2 separate regions of the Homo sapiens genome follow, and region 2 is linked to region 1. Evidence: promoter capture Hi-C in 16 types of primary human blood cells and fetal thymus (Javierre and others, 2016). All regions are on one chromosome and are shown on one strand. Each heading gives the region's core, a stretch centred on a gene start or on the middle of the fragment in contact. The rest is flanking DNA. Distances are from core to core; before and after follow the strand shown. Region 1 holds the start of ACO1 (aconitase 1). Region 2 holds the start of LOC105376015 (a long non-coding RNA gene).

Region 1 (6,854 bases), core at 4,199-6,698:
CATCACACCAAGCTCTTAGCAGAGCCAGTTTGTGGACTGATTAAGTTTCTGCTCTCTAACTTCTAGGACAGTCAGTAAATGTGAAATTAAGGAACAAAAGGTAGCTTTCTTAATCCATTTATGTCTTCTTAATACTTATTCTCCGTCTCTCTTTGAGACAAGTTCTCACTCTGTCGCCCAATTGTTTTTTCTCTTAATGCTAACCATCCTCTCAGCTTTTTCTGTTTGACAATGTGTTTACCACACACTCATCAACAGAGGGCAGTAGCTCACCATCATCTGGTTAAGTTAATCTGCATGGTACTTTGAAGGATGAACTTGGAACAGACGAAATGTTTGCTGTTTCCTCCCACCAAGGATGGGGCAAGGGAGGAGGGAAAGAGGATTTTCCATTTTAAAAAGCACTTAGAGCCAGGCACAGTGGTTCACACCTGTAATCCCAGCACTTTGGGAGGTCGAGGCAGGAGGATTGCTTGAGCTCAGAAGTTTGAGACCAGCCTGGGCAACATGAGGAGATCCCACCTCTATAAAAAATTTTAAAATTAGCTGAGTGTGGTGGCACACACCTTTGGTCCCAGCTACTCAGGAGGCTGAGGTAGGAGGATTGCTTGAGCCCAGGAGGTCGAGGCTGCATTGAGCCGTGATCCTGCCACTGCACTCCAGCCTGGGCAACAGAGAAAAATCCTGTCTCAAGAAGAAAATTTAAAAAGCACTTAAACTGACATGTGGAAGTAATCTCATCATAAACTGGAATTAGAAATGAGTCAAATTAGTGACAAATTTTTATTTTTACTCTCATTTGTCAACATTACCAAATTATTTTCTTGAAAAAAATGTTTTATTTTGTGTATACCTAAATAATTTAAAGGACCAATCCTGCAGAGTACTTCCCTCTCCCTTCTGAAAAATATATAACACAAAGTACTCAAAAAGTATCCAGCAAATTAACACATGTGAAAGATGGTACTAGACACCTAGGAATTATGTACCAATCCTGGAATTCATACTCAAGCTGCCCCTGATTTCCAACACCTCCATCCCCCAGAATGAGGACTCTCTTTACCCAGGTGTCCCTACATTACATGGCTGCAGCAGGGATCTCTGTGCTATCATCAGGGAGAACAAGCCCTGGAAATACGTGAATAAGGAATTCCAGCCTATATGGTGATAGAACAAATCTTTTCTCTAGAACATTTAAGTCCCTCTTCTGCAAAGAACAAATAATTTACAGCTTCAGGGTATCTGATGATTTTGTTGCATAATGCTTAAAAGCACAAGCTATGGAGTGAGGCCAGCCTTCTCTAAAACCCCAGGATCACCCTTTAAGTTTCATGACTGAAGCATTCTGTGTAACTACTCTGAATCTCAGTTTCCTCATCTGTGAAACTATGGCAATAACAATGTTACCAGCATCAACAGGCGGTTGTGAAGATTTTTATTATTAGCTATATTGAGAGGAATGGTGCTTAACTGTAAGCAGCTGCCCAGAGGATTCTTGTTCCCTGGGAAGGCAGTTCAGGGATCAGGCCCTTAGGCAGTAATTAAGAGAGCATGCAAATTAAGCGTATAGCAGGTGTGGTGAGAAGAGGGCATCAGGGGAGAGCAGTTGGCTATTTACCGGGAACCAAGATGAGGCTAAGACCTGCCTCTCCTTGTTATGAATATAACTTTGATTTTAAGAGGAACAAAACATTTATTTCAAATTTTCTCTAGTATGAAGACATATATTCAGTGAAAAATTTAGGGATTCTAAAGTCCCCTCAAAGCATTCAGGAGGACCATTTTATACTTCATTCATTGCCAAACAGATGTCTTCCCTCCGTGCCACTCTAGAGGACTCTGAACAGCGCAAAGGCCAACAGAGAGCAAAGGGTAAGCAATAGAAAGACACTGACAGTAAGTCAGTCAACAAACTTGTATTGAGCACCTACTATGCACCAGACTCCATGTTAGGGATGATGAACAAACTGACATGGGCCCCTGCCCTCATGGAGTGTATATTTCTAGGTAACAGGTCTTTGGTGCCAATCTGGGGACATGCTACAGCAGAATCACCTGTGGTAAAAATGTAGCGTATTCAGAATCTGAACACAGACCCCCACCCTGACCTAATGAATCAGACATTCTAGGAGGCAGAGGATACAGGAGGCTATATTTTTATCAGTGCCCTATGGTAAATCTGAGAAACACCCAGATTCGGAGAACTACCATTGGTGTTTCTCAAAGCATGGTCTTTTGACCACCCACATCAAACTCAGCCTCCTAAGAGCACAACACAGGCACGCATGTTTTCAATGTACCCCAAGGTTTGAGAAGCGTTATGCTTGACTTTTTCTCTTACACCTCTCCCTTCCTATTAAATGACATGTATGTGAAAATGCAGTATAAATTGTAAAGCATGATACAAAGTTAGTTGGGTATAGTTCCTAGGACCTTTCAATAAACTGAGGAAGTCCAGCATATACAAGTAACTGAAATCGGTGTGGAATATGATGAGGCATTCCTCAGAGCTCAACAGGTCTCTGGCAGAATCTTCATGGTTCTTCTTATAGCAGCAGAGCCTTCTAGCAGGTAAGGCTGCTAAAACAATACTGTTACTTCAAATGAAGGTCCTTCTGCCTCTGCCCCCCACCAGAGCACAGCTGGGGTGCCTGAGCAGTTACATGCTTGGGTGGCATCCTCTCTGAAGGTCCCTAGAGTATATGCCCTCAGCTGGGCCATTAGCAGAACCTTTTATATCGTGACAGAAATATTTGTTAGGTGGACCCTGTGAGAGCGTAGTAATATGCCATGGCAATATACCCCTTAAACATTTAGCTTTCTCAGCAGATCATGAAATACAAATTCGGGATGCAGGATTAGGATGAAAAAGAAACTAAATGGATAGGAGGGGAGAGACAGATGGTTAGAGAAGACACTAAATTCCCATTTTAGATGTGATGAATGACAGGCACTGATATGGTTTGTAATCCCCACCTGTGGAGGGAAGGAGGTGATTGGATCATGGGGATGATTTTTATTATTAGCTATACTGAGAGAAACTGTAAGCAGCTGCCCAGAGGATTCTTGTTCCCTGGGAAGGCAGCTCAGGGATCAGGCCCTTAGGCAGTAATTAAGAGAGCACGAAAATTAAACGTATAGCAGGTGTGGTGGGAAGAGGGCATCAGGGGAGAGCCGTTGGATATTTACCGGGAGCCAAGATGAGGCTAAGACCTGCCTCTCCTTGTTATGAATTTAACTCTTTTTTTCTTAAAGAGGAACAAAACGTTTATTTCAAATTTTCTCTGGTATGAAGACATATATTCAGTGAAAAATTTAGGGATTCTAAGGTCCCCTCAAAGCATTCAGGAGGACCACTGTGCATTCAGAGGACACTCTCTTGCCTGCTGCCAGGTAAGACATACCTGCTTCCCCTTCTGCCATAATTGTAAGCTTCCTGAAGCCTCCCCAGCATGCAGAACTGTGAGCCAATTAAACCTCCTTCCCTATGAATTACCCAGTCTCAGGGTTCTTTACAGCAGCGTGAGAACGGTCTAATACAGACACCTTTGGAATATCCAGGTGGGGTTGCCACATATGGCTGCAAATCAAGAGTGTGAAGGTCAGAAAGTTAACTAAGACCAATGACAGAGACATAGCAGGCTTCAGCTAGAAGTGGCAGGCAGTCTGCATACTGAGAAAATAGATGAAGAAAAACTCAGCAAATGGAGAAACATATAAAGCAAGAGGAGAGAGTGTAGGGAAAGACCTTAAAAAAGAGGGACAAAAGAGGGAAGAGGTGACTCCTAAGAGCGGAGGGCTGAAAAGCCAAAAGGAGGTTAACATTTCTAGGAAAACGAATCGCCAGTGTCAAATACCACAGAGTAGTGAGTAAGGACAGGAACAGAGGACAGGCCCTGGGATTCACGATCTGCACGTCACTGGTGACAACGTCCAAGAGCAACAGACTGGGGGGATGTGGAACTATTTCCTTCACGGTTTTGACCAGCGTGCTTACTAATAAATCTCAATTCCCTTCATAGCTCTGATTTGATTGTTTTCTGCGAAGGATTCTCAGTTACACGGATGTTATCATTGAACATTAGATACTTTGCTTTCCGAATGGCTGCCTCATTAAGAATCGCAATTTAGCTGGATGTGTCCTCATCGGACTTCCCCAGCCTTCTACTCACTCTCACCTTGCCCCTACTCTCCCTACCTCCCAAGGGGACTGGAGCATGATTTTTCAGGGATTGTGGTGCACCTCTGCCATATGGTGGACATTCAAAGAAAATTTAATTACTAATGTGAATGGAAAGGATTTAGGAAGTGGGTGGGAAAACAGTCTCCTCTCATATTGGAAATACAGTTACTTCCCCTTTCAAAATAAATATAAGTATTTATATTTCAAAGTTAAATATAACTAGACGATAGTTGTACCCTATAGTGCAGTATGACAGGGAAGGTGTAGGCTTTGGTGTCAAACCAACCTAAGGACTGAGTCTCAGCTGTTGCGCATTGCACACCTGCAAAGACGGGTAATATTCTTTACTTGTAAGGTGGTTGGAAGAGCTGAACTGAATAACGTGGAAAGAGTCGATCACAGGGCTTTGTGCAGAATAGGAGGGCAGTATAAAGTAGCAGGGGGGCTATTAGTACTGGCTATTGTTTACTCATCCTATAAGCTGCTTATTCAGAAAACTACAGTAACTTTCCAAATAATTTGGGCAGGAAAACCTCACCACCTTTCATCTAGAAAGATCTAATCACTTCTTTGAACGCCATTCACCCAAGAGGGCACAACTCCTACCAACATGAAAAGCAGATCTTGTGAAAGCCCACTTGCTGCCATCTCCCAGCCATTTCTCCGACTTCAGACCGGTGAACATCGTGCATTAGAAAGTGTTGTTACATGTCCAAGGAAATCTACATATAGAACTTTTGCCACGGAAATGCTGAAGTCCTATTCTGACAGCGTGACTCCGATGTCCACTTGGCAGGCTTTGCGCAAAGAATTAAGGCGAGGGTGGAGAGGGTGGGTAGGGTGGGGACGGACAAAGTGAGAAGGGAGGCGGGCCAAGTGACCACACGTACATGAAGCCTCTCCAGTTATGGCCAAATCATTTTTTAAAAATAATTCCATTTCTTCCCCACCCTTTGGTCACTTCCTAACGCCGGCTGGGGAGTCACATGCTAAGCTCCAAAGTGAGCAACAGACACCCTCGTCCCAGGTCCCATGCTGGCAGAAGCGGACCCGGGCCGAGGGATCAGCCCTCCCACTTCCAGCGGAGGAGCCCTTCGCAACCCTAGCCTCCAGCCCGGGGCGAAGTCCTCCAGGCCCGCGGGGGCGCCCGCAGGCTCCGCCCCTTCTTCGGCTAGCTGCCCGTCCGTCCCGCCCCTGCTCCGCCCTTCCCGCCCCTGCTCCGCCCATCGCGCGGCGGCCCCGGGGGCGAGAGGGGGCGGAGCGTGGAGGCGGCAGCTGGAACCGCGCAGCGCACGGGAACGCGTCCCGCTGCTTGGGTCAGGTTCGCCGGTCGCGGGAGCCCCGCCGTGCAGTCGGAGGTGAGTACCGACGCGGCCCGACCCACGTCCCCAGGCGGGAGCGCCGTCCACCCTGTATCCCTCGAGAGTCGGTGCGGGCCTTTACCGAGGTGCCCGAGGCAGTGGCGGCACGGGGGACACGGAGGCGAGCTTGGGGAGGCTGAGAGGAGAATCGGGGACGTGTTTCTGGCGACTGACGTCTCCACCCTGTCCCCAGTCTATGTCATGCCGGGGAGAGAAACCAGGGATTGGAAGTGGCTTTCCTAGACCCTTCTTAGCCTTGGCTGTGCGTGCTGTCCTGAAAGTCCTTGCCTAGGGTGTGCGGCCAGTCCTGGGAGTCCTAACCCCGAGGGTGTGAGGCCCGCACTGGGAGTCCTCGCCCAGGCCCGGCTGGCTGGATAGGGAAACCCTTGCTAAAGTTGTGCGGGCAGATCCGGGAATCCACTCCAAGGGGTAAAGGGAAAATGGGATGAGGGGGAAGAGACCCTTCGTGGGAGGCTTGAACACAGAGCCCACCATGATAGATTCAGAGATCTAGAAAGGAGCTTGGGCTGCAGTTATGACCAAGTCATTTTTTTCTAGATTCAGCTAGCACATCATAATGGCATCTTCCTTCTTGCAACACATGTAACTCTCTTCCCTGGGGGACAACCTCTAGGACAGAAGTCCCCAAACTTTTCTGGTACTCAGTACTCCTTTACACTCTTAAAAATTAGTATCTTAAGGAGCTTTTATGTGTGTTATATCTATCCATATTTATAATATGTAAGTAAGACTGAGAAATTTGTACTATAATAATTCATTTAAAAAGAATAGTGAACTAATTATATCTTAACATTGCCTATTTTTATGAAAAAGAACTATATTTCCCAAAACAGAAAATGATTGAGAAGAGTGGCATTGTTTTACATTTTTGCAAATCTCTTTGATGTCAAGCGTAATTGAAGACAGCTGGATTCTGATAGCTGCTTCTGCAGTCTGTTGCAATATCACATATCATGTAGCCTCTTGAGACCTCCACTGTATACTCCTGAAAATGTGTGAATGAAAAAAAGCAAGTAACATTTTATTACTAGGAAAATGGTTTTGACTTTGGAGATCCCTAGGAGTTCTCTGCACCACACTTTGAGGATGCTGGTGTAGGAAATGCTTCAGAGGCTTCATTCATTGGGCCTGCTTCTTGTTTGTGATCCTTCCTCTGATTGGGAACACACACCACCTCATGCCATGGACAGTATTAACCTCTGGTATCTGGAACCAAGTTTGATCTCACTTTGGAAACCATGTACTAGGTCCCCACGTGAGGCTGTGATGAACCTTGCCAGCCTCCTGAA
Region 2 (6,258 bases), core at 1,762-4,261, 220 kb after region 1:
CCTACTCCTCTGCCTTAGCAAGGGTCTGCAGTGGCACGAAGAGTGGCTCCTACGCGTCAGTTTCCCCACCTCCTCGTGCCTCAATCCACTTCTTCCTCACATCAAGGCGAATTCAGAAAAAGTATCAGAATTTTGTTGACTCACCTTTCCTCATTTCTCTTTCTGAAAAGCAAGTGTCATTACAAGGTTGAAAGCCGTACAGTTGAAAGTAAAACTGTATTACATGAAGTTTTGCCCTTTTTTCAATCTTGATCACTGATGAGAAATTTTTGGCCCTTTAAAATGCAGTCATTTTATTCATTTTGTTAGGTACTGGGGGAAAATGCTCTCTGATCTGACTTCCTTTACCTCAAACTTTCAGAACAACTTTCAAGCAGGTGGGCCACACTCAGAAAAACCAAAGCCTGAAATTCAGTGTCAGGGTAAAAATAACATTAAGGATGGGGTGAAAAACAGTGAGCCTTATTTCACATTGACTTTAGAGGCTGAATTACAGCTAGATAGGAGGAATAAGTTCTAGTGTTGAGATGGCTTCTAATTTTATATTTACTTAAATCACATACTTATGTTTCCAAGAGCTTAAAAAAAAAAGGACAAGACACTTTGAAGTTTGTATCATTTCCAATACTAAAAATTCACTAAAGGTGAATCGTTGCAGGTTAAAAATCTCATATGCTAGGCCGGGCGCGGTGGCTCACGCCTGTAATCCCAGCACTTTGGAAGGCCGAGGCGGGCGGATCACGAGGCCAGGAGATTGAGACCATCCTGGGTAACACAGTGAAACGCCATCTCTACTAAAAATACAAAAAATTAGCCAGGCAAGGTGGCGGGCGCCTGTAGTCCCAGCTACTCGGGAGCCTGAGGCAGGAGAATGGCGTGAACCCCGGGGGGCGGAGCCTGCAGTGAGCCGAGATCGCGCCACGCACTCCAGCCTGGGCGACAGCGAGACTCTGTCTCAAAAAAAAAAAAAAAAAAAAAAAAAAAACTCATATGATAATAGACTTCAAAAACAACAACAAAAAAACCCAAAGCATCCTTATAATGACACAAAATATTAGAGTGGCATTAAAATGTGTCCCAAATATATAATATCATTTTCAAAAGATGTCGCCGTCTAAAAGCAACTGAGCTGAACATCTCTGACTTCACCATACTTTGCATTTATTTATCTTACAAAGTGAAACTAATTCTTTCATTACTTTTAGAGATTAATTCTGTGTGCTGACTTCAACAAGACGATGTTTTGCATTTGTGCTCAGCCACATTTTAAGCAACACCCTGAGAGAGTCAGTACTGTGTGCAGGGATTCAGCTGCACAGTTCACATCGAGATCAGCAAAAGGGTGGATAAATCCCTAGGTGCGGCTTTAATTTTGTTGCCAGGAAAAAAAAAAAACAAAAAACCCAACCAGTGTTCAGAGGCCATCAGGCTTAGCTTCTGCTCTGTGCCTCTGCGAAGTGCAATGCACAGGAAACAACACATCCTGGAGCCCCGACCCACTCTGAATTACAGCTGCCTGCCAGGCCCAGGAGGCTTGGTCCTAGGAGTCCAGCAACCAGGCTGTGCAGTGCGGCTGGGTCGAAAATTCCTGAGGGCTGATTATCTTCTTCTCAGCAGTTGGCAGGTGTGCGTCACCATCAGCTTAACTCTCCCTGTGTTCCCTGGATGACTCACAATGATCGCTTCCCATGTCACCTTAACCTAGTGAGCAAATTAGGAAGAGTTGTTTATTCATTTTAAACTATGATAATCCCTTCTAGTCACAATAGCTAAAGTGGTCATATGGCCACTGGCCATCACTATTGATCTTCTGGTATGTGTTGGGTATAGTTATGGAGGCAGAGTAGCAGTGGCCAAACACCTGTGTTCCGGGTTCAGGAACTGAAACCCTGGCTCCACCACTAACTATCTGCATGGCAGGGCAAGGTCCTTAACTTCATTAAACCTCCGGTTCCTTATTCGTAAAATGAAGACAATAATGGCACCCATTGGGAGGACTTAAAAAGCTAATACTGTGTATAGGAAAATTCTTAGCCCCATGTTAACATTCTCACTGATGCAGCTGCTGAAGATGATTAACATCTATTTTATTTAAGAAAGTTGATACCAAAGGTTTACATTTATATATTTTCCTAATTTAAAAAAATATTTTATATGACACATAATGATTTGTACATATTTATGGGGTGCATAGTGATGTTTCAACACATATGATGTATAGTGATAAGGTCAAGGTAATTAGCATAGCCATCATGTCAAACATTTATCATTTCTTTGTGTTGGGAACATTCTATATCCTCCTGCTAGCTATTTGAAACTATAGAGTATATTATTGTTAACTATCATCATCCTGTAGCGCTATATAACACTAGAACTCATTCCTTCTATCTAGCTGTAATTTTGTATTCTTCTACAAATCTATCCCTATGTCTCCCTTCCCTCTCCTTCCCAGCCTGTAGTACTGAGTTGCTTTACCAGTGATTAGGAATATAATGAAGTACTTCTGAAACCAGATGCTTTTTATTTTCAAGCTTTAAGCATTTATTTTCAATTGTACAAAACCATCTTGTTTCATGGATGAAGACAGAGAAATATAAGGCTTGCCTGAGATCACAAAGCTGACTAGAGGTAAAAATGCTACTAAAATTCTAGTGTCCTGATTTTCTTCCCAGGCTTTTTTGTCTCCATTGCCCTGCTTTTCCTTGTATGATCATATTCATCAGCGGAGACTCTCATATTCTAGCCATGTTCCTACAGAGCCATTCTAGATGTTAGTAATTTCACTTTTTGGCTGTTATAACAGAGAGCCTCAAAATAACACTGGGGCTAGCCTCAGTGGCTCATGCCTGTAATCCCAGCCCTTTGAGAGGCCTAGGTGGGTGGATCACTTGAGGTCAGGAGTTCCAGACCAGCCTGGCCAAGATAGCAAAACCCCGTCTCTACTAAAAATACAAAAAACTAGCTAGGCGAGATGGTGGGCAGGAGAATTGCTCAAACCCGGGAGGCGGAGGTTGCGGTGAGCTGAGATTGCAGCCACTGCACTCCAGCCTGGGCAACAGAGCAAAACTCTATCTCAAATAAATACAAAATAAATAAAAAATAACACTGGATTAAACAAGATACTTATCTCTCATGTTAAAATCCAGGTAAGCAATCCAGGGCTGGAATGGAGGCCCTGCAATCACCAGTTGCCCAAGCCTCCTGTGTCTTAATGCCCTGCCAATCTCAGCACCTAGTATCTGTTTTTGGTCTAAGGATGGCTACCCTCACTTCCACCTTCCCATCAGTGAGGATGTGGAAAGAGGTAAAAGCCTGGCTCCATTTAAGAGAACATGACATTTTTGCTCACATCCCATTCTTCTGAACTTAATCACATAGCTACATCTAGCTGCAAGGGAGGCTGGAAAATGGGACTCTTTGACTGCCCCCTGTGTAAGAAGGGGAGACTGGATACTGGAGTATAATTAATAGTTGTTGACACATGGACACCCTAAGCTTTAAGTAGTATGATATTTTTACAAAAATACTAGAGTTTTTAGAGTTTAATACAACAGCTAGAAGGTGTACATAGGTCCTAAGCATCAATGAAGGATCATTAATCCATTTCTCAGAATGTGATTCCAGACAGCAGCTTCCATCTGAGGGTCTACAAAGGTGGCATGGGGTTCTGCACATTATTACAAATATTTACCAAGCCAATGTATAAAAAGACAGGCAATAACAAATATTGACAAGGATGTAAAGAAACTGTAGCTCTTGTATTCTGCTGGCGGGAAAATGGTGCAGCCACTTTGTAAAACATTTTTCAGTTTCTTAAAATACTAAATAGAGTCACCATATGACCCAACAATTCAGCCATTATTATCTACCCAAGATAAATGAAAATCTACATTCACATGAAGATTTGTATATGAATATTCCTGAGAACATTAGCCATAATATCCAAAAAATGGAAATAACCCAAATGTTTTAACTGGTGAATGGATAAGAAAAATGTGGTATATCCATACAACAGAACACTATTCCAGTCATAAAAAGGAACAAAGTATTGACACATGCTTCAACATGAATGCATGTCAAATACATTAAGTGAAAGAAGACATAAACAAAAGACCATGGTTCCATTCATATGAATATAAATATATGAAATATCCATCACAGACACATCAATAGAAACAGAAAGCAGATCAGTGGTTTTGTGTGGCGGGGGTTGGGGGTGGTGCTGAAGGTGGAAATAGGAAGTGACTGCAAATGGGAATGAGGTTATTTTGGGGGTGAAGGAAATGTTCTAAAATTCCATTGCAGTAATGATTGCAAAACTCTTTAAACTTACTAAGAATTATTAAATTATACACTTTTATTTTTAGAGATGAGGTCTTGCTACATTGTTCAGGCTGCTCTCGAACTCCTGGCCTGAAGTGATTCTCCTGCCTTGGCCTCCCAAAGCTCTGGGATTACAGGCATAAGCCACCATACCCGGCCTGTTTTTAATTTTCTTTGCAGCCTTAGGAAATCTAGAATTCAAGGACACACCATGATTAGTTGCTGGGGATATTAAGTGGTTAAAAAAGCTGTGGCCTGCGCAGTGCTCAGGGATGGGAACAGGTGAACCAGGAGAGTGGCAACAAGCAATGGTAAGAGAAAACCCAGAGCAGAGTAATCACGCTGGACCCTTGCTGGGAGAACTAACCTTAAGGGGTGTGGAGGAGAGGACTCAAGTAGATAACAAAAACAGCACTCAGAGATATTCCCCAGTTCCCTGTGGTCCAGCTCAATCTTCTACAGTTTTCATGAGACTATACCACGCTGTGAGAATTGATATTCCTAATCATTCATTAATTCTTCACATATGCATCCACAAAGATTTCTTGAACCTCCTATTGCCAGGAGTAAGGATGTTCCTAAGAGCCCAAACCTGGTTTCTCGTTCTACCTCAGCTGCTTGTTCGAGTACAGGTCTCATCTCAGTATAAGTTTCTTCTTTCTTTTTTTTTGAATTTCAAAGAGCCTATATCTTCATGAATTTCATGAAAAAAAATTAAATAAACATGAGGTCTAAAATTTGCTTCTTGTGCCTGCAATAAATCTTTCCAGGAAGAACTACCTTCCCAGGTTTTTTTATCCTTTTGTTTTCCTTCCTTAATATTACAAAGTCCTTTCTGAGGTCATAAACCTAGCAACAATATACAACTTTAGACTTAAATGTGAAAAAACATTAAATGACCATAATTGACTCAGGATGAAGTGATCTAATCTGAATACCAATAATAAATTTTAAAAAATTTTTTCTTTATTCCTTCTAAAAAAAGAAAAACAGGATACATGTGCAGAACATACAGGTTTGTACATAGGTATATGTGTGCCATGGTGGTTGGCTGCACCTATTGATCCATTCTCTAAGTTCCCTTCCCTCACTCCCCACCCTGCAAGCAGCCCTGGTGTGTGTTGTTCTCCTCTCTGTGTCCATGTGTTCTCAGTGTTCAGCTCCTACTTATGAGTGAGAACAAGCAGTGTTTGGTTTTCTGTGCCTGTGTTAGTTTGCTGAGGATGATGGTTTCCAGCTTCATCTATGTCCCTGCAAAGGACATGATCTCATTCCTTTTTATGGCTGCATAGTATTCCATGGTGTATATGTACCACATTTTCTCTATCCAGTCTATCATTGATGGACATTTGGGTTGGTTCCATGTCTTTGCTATTGTGAATAGTGCTGCAATAAACATATATGTGCATGTGTTTTTATAGCAGCATGACTTATAATCCTTTGGGTATATACTCAATAATGGGATTGCTGGGTCAAATGGTATTTCTGGTTCTAGATCCTTGAGGAATTGCCCCTCCAATAATAAATTTTTTAAAAATCATAGAATTCACTCCAAAGAAATCTAACCCAGGTAGCTTTGTGGGCGAGCCTTTTTAAATATTAAAAACACATATGATTCTCCCTCTATAAACTCCTTCAAAGTTAAAATGGAAAACCTACCTAATTATAGACAAGAAACCAAACAAACAAAACAAAACCAAAACCTAAAAATACCTTGGTACCAAAACTTAAAACAACAGCAACAACTATAAACCAATCTTATGTGTCAATACAGATGCAAAAACCTTGGGTAAACTACTTACAAATTAGGCTGGGTGCAGTGGCTCTGTAATTCCAACACTTTCGGAACCTGATGCAAGAGGATTGCTCGAAGCCAGGAGTTCAAGAACAGTCTGGCCAACATCGCAAGACCCCATCTTTAAAAAAAATTTAAAA

The links. The method cuts DNA at HindIII sites, captures the fragments that hold promoters and counts their contacts. A CHiCAGO score of 5 or more calls a contact.
Region 2: a fragment that was not itself captured here is called in contact with the fragment with the promoter of ACO1 in region 1 in 2 of 17 cell types (naive B cells and monocytes); the score reaches 6.0 in naive B cells.

What each region holds. Positions count from the first base shown.
Region 1 is chr9:32,379,195-32,386,048 of GRCh38, forward strand. ACO1 (aconitase 1) reads left to right here and starts at 5,449. Exons shown (of 21, transcript NM_002197.3): 1 at 5,449-5,541. RefSeq lists a silencer at 5,250-5,629. The HindIII fragment of the contact is 14,350 bases long and covers 3,431-6,854 here.
Region 2 is chr9:32,602,767-32,609,024 of GRCh38, forward strand. It overlaps LOC105376015 (a long non-coding RNA gene), which reads right to left and starts at 6,235. Exons shown (of 2, transcript XR_929553.1): 1 at 6,126-6,235; 2 at 1,141-1,701. The HindIII fragment of the contact is 964 bases long and covers 2,530-3,493 here.